Linked DNA regions of Homo sapiens: region 1 is linked to region 2. Evidence: promoter capture Hi-C in human tissues and cell types (Jung and others, 2019). All regions are on one chromosome and are shown on one strand. The core of a region is centred on a gene start or on the middle of the fragment in contact, and the rest is flanking DNA. Distances in the headings are between cores, read along the strand shown.

Region 1 (3,485 bases), core at 949-3,448, 130 kb after region 2:
AGAAAGTCCCCCACATTTTTTAAAGGACTATTTATAAAAGTTAAAATAAGTAGCACATCTAAATGTCTATAAAATGGTCACTGATTCCATTTACTTATTTAATTGACTAGGCTAAATCTTGACAACTTACATAGATTTTATTCAGGTCTGTGACAAAATTTCATAGAAGACTTGTTACACAGGATGCATTCTATAAATTTGCAGAGCATTTTTCTCAGCACTGAGTCTTGTAACTTAATTTGATTCAGTAATATATGATTTTTCTCTAAATTATGACTTTTGTTTATATTCTTTCCCACCCAAAGCATCACTTTATGCCAAAAAATTCTTACTTTTTGGGTTTCTGACCACATCTTTGCATTTATTCTCAAGTTTTTATTATAGCATAACTATCAACATTTTTAAAGAAATAATTCTCTGTTTTAATGAGCTTGTTAAAATATTCTTCCAATATATTCTTATCCTCCAGATTTTTTCTAAAAGTTTAGTTACCTACTAAGGAAGTTATGTGTAAATGTATTGAAGTGCCTACATTTCCTAATAATAAAGGAGAAGATCACAAAGTACTAGATAACAATAGCTTTTTTTCTGGTGCTGCTCTGTAATGCACCGTATTTAAATTATTTAGACTGTGAAGCCTTTCTGTTTCTCAAATTGTCATTTAAGGGTCAAACGCCATCTTATAGAAAGGAATGCTTGACTCAGCCCCCTTTGGAATGATGCATCAGCTTTATCACATACTTGACTACCTTAAATAAGGCATCCTGCACAACTCTGATGGAGTGTTTTCTTAATGAGCAGAAATCATAAAGATGAACAGTTACTGTATTCAGTATCATTGTCGGTCCAGTGATAGTCACTGAGCTGAATGTCTACAGACTCCAGAAAATAACCTGAACTTTACTGTTAATTATTCAGTTCTCTCAGTTGTCTTTTTCTGCTTTCTACCTTTATTCATTCAGCAGGCAGATCTCAAGAGCCTGTTTTGTGCCGGGCTCTGAGCTGAGCACCAGAGCTTCTAAAGGAAGCTTCGGTTTGGGAAAATATGTAAACAGGCATGTGAAATTCAGCTTTGAGTGCTGTGATGGAAGCATTTAAAGAGTACAGTTGAAGCACACATGTGGGGGAGGGCTTTGTCTGCTGGGACGTCATAAAGGAAATGACCCTTAAAAGATGAGTAGCCACTGGCCCAGGTGCTTAAGTAAGAGTGTTCCACTCAGATAGGCTAGCATGAGCAAGGCAGAAGCCTGAAACAGTTGGATGTGTTCCAGAAACTGTAAGCAATTGAATACAATGGAAATGAAGTTCATTTACAAGACCATGATGAGAGAATTGACTTTTAGGCTGTGGCCACATTGTTGAAGGACATGTGTAACACTCAAAGGAGTAGGTCTTTCTTTTCTAATCAATGGAGAGCTATTTATAAGTTTAAACCTGATAAGCTTTGGGTTTTACAAAGACTTATTCATCAGCTGTTGGGAGGGTAAATTTGGTGAGTACAACAAGGACAAACTAGCTCAGTTAGGAAGCTATTACTAGAGGCCTCATAAGAGGTTTAGAGAATCTATGTGCCTGGGAGAAGTGGAGAGGATATAACCTTTATCCTTAGAGGTAAAGTCTAGAGGGCTTGAAGACCAGTTGGATGAGGAAGAACTATAAGATTATCATACTTAACGGCTGAGGTACTGGTAGATGGTGAGCGGTGTAGGAGAACCCAGGCTCAGAGGAATGTGGGTGTTAATTTTTCTTTTTGAATTTGGAATTTGAGGTCTATCTACCTGAAAATTTCATGTAGCTACTTAGATCTATTGCTCTGAATAGCAAGAAAGTTCTGGGATAGAGATAATGAATTTAAGTCATAATGAAATATAATGAATCTCATTTATAGAAAACATTCTATGTGCCAGGACCTGTTTACACACACACACACACACACACACACACACGATGTTATATATTATCTTTTTAAAATCTTCAGTATAATTCTAGGAACAAGATATTATCTTCATTTTTTTTTTGACAAGTAACTAAGGCTTAGAGAAGTTGAAAACATGTGCAAGCTTCCACATCTAATAATTAGCAGGCCCATCATTGAACCATTGAACCCAAACATACTGTTAAAATAATGTTCACTGTGTTTTCCATTATTATTTTTAATAGTGTTTTAGAATGGGAAGCAAGGCATGTATGCACTTCGCATGTCATTGAGTAGATAGGCCTGGATTTGAAAGCCTATAGAAGTGTCATAACAGAGAATATTGGAATATTTATAGTCTTAATTTTATCTTATTGACAGTAGGAAGCATTGAAAGTTTTTAGCAAGATGAATAGAAAAGGGGAATGGATCAGTGGGAGGGGGTGTGATAGTATTCTTTTGGATGGAAGTAACAGAACCCAGTTTAAGCAAAAGGAATTGTTTACTGGAAGAATATACCAGGAAAACCTTGGAGAAACAATGTAAGGGGTTAACAGGCAAAATGTGAACAGTTTCTAGAATTCCACCTCCAGGGTACAGCCAGCAAATTAGCGCAGCTGCCAACTGGTTCTTGTCTTTATTTACCTCTGTTCAAATGTCCAAGAGGCTAGCAGGGCGTGGTGGCCCATGCCTGTAATCCTGACACTCTGGGAGGCTGAGGCGGGTGGATCACTTGAGATCAGGAGTTAAAGACCAGCCTGGCCAACATGGTGAAAACCTATCTCTACTAAAAATATAAAAATCAGCTGGGCGTGGTGGCAGGTGCCTGTAATCCCAGCTACTCAGGAGGCTGAGGCAGGAGAATCGCTTGAACCCGGGAGGCAGAGGTTGCAGTGAGCTGAGATCATGCCACTGCACTGTAGCCTGAGTGACAGAGCAAGAGAAGTACTCTGTCTCCAAAAAAAAAAAAAAAAAAAAAAAAAAAAAAAAATCCGAGATTCTGAGAAAGATGAGACTGAGATGAGTGGCCCAGCCTGAGGATGGCCACTCACAGCTAAAGCAGTCTGCTGTGATCATTCACTTGTAACACAACATCTCCAGCTCCTTTAGGTCTTTTGTTCAACTCTTGACCTTAGAAAATCATTTTCTTCTTTCTTTACTTGTTAACTCAGAATGAGACTTTTCAAAGAGGATGATAATAAGAATAGTGCTGGTGGGGAATTTATTTCAAGAGGAAAAACCATAAAGTTTGGAGTGAAATTAGATGTAATGGAAGAAAACTCAGTGCCATCAGCCACTAGGGGTCTAGTTTAAGTGTCCTTAAAGCTCATAAGTCCCCATCAACTACTTCAAATCAAACCTGTTTATATATATATATATATATATTTATATATATATATATATATATATATATATATATTTATTTATATCAGTAATTTTTAGGGTACAGGTGGTTTTTGGTTATATGGATAAGTTCTTTAGTAGTGATTTCTGAGATTTTGGTGTACCTGTCACCCAAGCAGTGTACACTGTACCCAGTGTGTAACCTTTTATCCTTCACCCGCCTCCC
Region 2 (2,971 bases), core at 256-2,755:
AACAAACATGCACTCTCAAACTCCCAGAGGGGACAAAAGAAAACAAAACAAGAACACAAAAACTTGGGCTGTTCCAGTACATCCTCAAGGGTGGGAGCTGAAGGTGCGAGCTCCAGAGAGGAGCCGCGGCCTCCGCCCTCCCCCGCCCGCAGGTGGCTCCCGGCGAGCGCCTCAGACAACAATAGCTAGGATGAGCTTGGCCTGCGTCCTTAGTTTGCTGTGTCTGCCCCTGCCAGGAAAGATTACCCATCTCCAAAGAATGACAAAATAAAGAAGCGTACGTTAGGCTCCCAAGGAGACACCGCCCCCCCTTCCCCACCATTCTTCATCTCCATTAGATTCCCTACCGCGGACCAAAGATGAACCTGCTACCAATCAAGTTCCTGCCCAAGTTATTTTATTTCCCGCAGCCCCTCCACCTGCCGGGGCGGTGCTCGGCGCACTCTAGGCTTCCCTCCGGCGACCCCCCGCGGGCTGCAGCAAAATACGGGGCGCTTCGGCGGGGCGGGGGCGGGCGGCTGCCGCGGATCCGGCCGGCTACAGCCGCAGCTTGGTGGCCTCCGATTGGCCACGACGCGGGCGGGGAGGCTCGGCGGAGGAGGGAGGCGGGGGCGAGGGCGGCGGCGGCGGCGGGAGGAATAGGAGAGGGGAGCGGGCCGCGCAGCCAGGCAGCGCGTGGGGCGAGCGCGGGGAGAGCGGCGGCGGCTCGCCCAGGTCGCGCAGCGGAGGCCGAGCGGGGTGCGCGGTCGGCGACGGAGGGCGGCGCGCGCGAGTGAGCGGCGCAGGGCGAGGACCGGCGGGCGGGTGCCGGTGCGCGGGCAGCAGGGGCGGCTGCGGCAGCAGCTGCGCGGGACGGAGCCGCGGCGGGAGAGACCGCGCCGGCCCCTCGCCTCACCCCCTTGCGGCCGAGGCCGGAGAACAGTCTCCAACTCGCCGGGGGACCGGAAAGAGGAGCCGAGAAGCGCCCCTCGGCCCCCACGCAGCGGAGGCGCGGAGTGGCGGGACTGCTGCTCTTTGTGGGTGCAGCACGCACGACCCGGAGCGCCCTCCCCGCGGCGCTGTCCCCGGCGTCTTCGTCGCGCCGAGCGGCCCTGGAGCGGGGACCCGGAGGAAGCAAAACCACGAGCCCGAAACCTCGCGTGGCGGAGCTCTTGGGGAGCGCCATCCGCTCCACTTCCACCTCCACATCCTCCACCGGCCAAGGTCCCCGCCGCTGCATCCCTCGCGGCTTCCGCTGCGCTCCGGGCCGGAGCCGAGCCGCCTGCGCTGCCACAGCAGCCGCCTCCACACACTCGCAGACGCTCACACGCTCTCCCTCCCTGTTCCCCCGCCCCCTCCCCAGCTCCTTGATCTCTGGGTCTGTTTTATTACTCCTGGTGCGAGTCCCGCGGACTCCGCGGCCCGCTATTTGTCATCAGCTCGCTCTCCATTGGCGGGGAGCGGAGAGCAGCGAAGAAGGGGGTGGGGAGGGGAGGGGAAGGGAAGGGGGTGGAAACTGCCTGGAGCCGTTTCTCCGCGCCGCTGTTGGTGCTGCCGCTGCCTCCTCCTCCTCCGCCGCCGCCGCCGCCGCCGCCGCCTCCTCCGGCTCTTCGCTCGGCCCCTCTCCGCCTCCATGTGCCGGATAGCGGGAGCGCTGCGGACCCTGCTGCCGCTGCTGGCGGCCCTGCTTCAGGTACGCGGCGGTCCCCGCGGGCCGGGCCACGGGCGGGGTGGGGCGGGCGGCGCCGGGTCCCTTTGTTCCCCGCGCCGCTGCGGGGCCGGGCTGCGCACCCGGGAAGGGAGGTGCCACGCCGCGCCGCGCCGCGCCGCGCGGCCGGTAGCTGCGCAGGCATCGGGCTCCGTCCGGGCGCCGGGGCAGGGTTGCCGGGGCCAGTAGGTCTCTCGCGCCTTTCCTGGCGGGGCTCTAGGGGCTGGATTGCGGGTCCCCTCTGCTCCTTCTTCGGGGCCGAGCAAGCTCGCGGGGGGTGTCCCCAGGCAGCAGGAGGGTGAGGCAGGATAACTCCCAGGTTTTGCAGTTTTCTGTGCCTTTCGCCCCTCGCATAGTACTTTGCTCCAATTTTTTTGTTTATTTCTGCAGGGATGGGTCGCGAGTTTACAGTAGGAATTCTCACTCTGGTGTCTTAGTTACGGGACTTGCCTCCACCTTACCCCACCCTGCACCCGTGCGCCTCCCGGTGCTCAAGGGCTCTACTGTCCTATTGTCTTTATCCCAGTCTGGAGTTGCCTCCTTTTCTTCTTCTCTTGCCCTCACAATATTCTGTGTTCGTCCCACCTGGAAAGAAAATCTGGCCCTCTTGCCCGGAGGAGTCTCTGCCGGTCAGCGCCTGCCTGTAGAACGAGTCTGGCCTCTCACGCCTAGTATCTCCCCCGGGCGAGAAGTTCCGTTACGCGGCTGCTCCTTTCTCTGTCCGGCTGCCTGTGCCCTATATGCGCCCCGGGGGCGCCTTTGCCTGGAGCCTTCCGTACTTTTCATACCCTCGGGAGAGAGCCAGCGAGCCTTTTCATTTAATCTCTACTAAGAGGCTCCTCCGCGGCAGGAAGCACCTGCTCCAGTCCGGGCGCAGGTTCCCTCGCCACTGCACGCTGCGGGTTCCCAGCCCGGGGGCAGCCCAACTTTCCGCCGCCTCCAACCCGAGGATGCCCCCAGGCTCCTCCCGACCAGCCAGCCCAGGCCTGGAGGCCACTTCACACAGCCTCGGCCGGGACCCTCTAGCTGGGCGGGTGCAGTGCCCTGGTCCCAAGTCGGTCTCCGCCTGCCGTGGGGTCCCTCGAAGGTTGCGGGAAAGGGGCGTGCCCACCCTCGCCGCGGGGCAGGAAAATCCACGGAGGGTCCCCCTGCCTGTCGCCCTCGGGGCAAGGGGAGAGGTGCTCTACTGCCAGCTGGCAGCCCCGAAAAGTGCGGACGCAGCTCGGAAGTGCCTGCTCCGGGGGTGGAGACAGGTGGTGTGGATTACCCCGCTCCGTGGTCTTC

What was found. Contacts are between HindIII fragments. The study calls those that stand out against the background at their distance.
Region 1: a fragment that was not itself captured here is called in contact with the fragment with the promoter of CDH2 in region 2 in 1 of the 25 tissues and cell types used here (hippocampus).

What each region holds. Positions count from the first base shown.
Region 1 is chr18:28,043,312-28,046,796 of GRCh38, reverse strand. The region is part of intron 2 of CDH2 (cadherin 2); the gene reads left to right. Among named protein-coding and RNA genes, the nearest start is that of CDH2-AS1, 120 kb to the right of the region's middle. The HindIII fragment of the contact is 3,794 bases long and covers 302-3,485 here.
Region 2 is chr18:28,175,664-28,178,634 of GRCh38, reverse strand. It overlaps CDH2 (cadherin 2), which reads left to right and starts at 1,505. Exons shown (of 16, transcript NM_001792.5): 1 at 1,505-1,672. The coding sequence starts at 1,613. The HindIII fragment of the contact is 9,493 bases long and covers 1-2,971 here.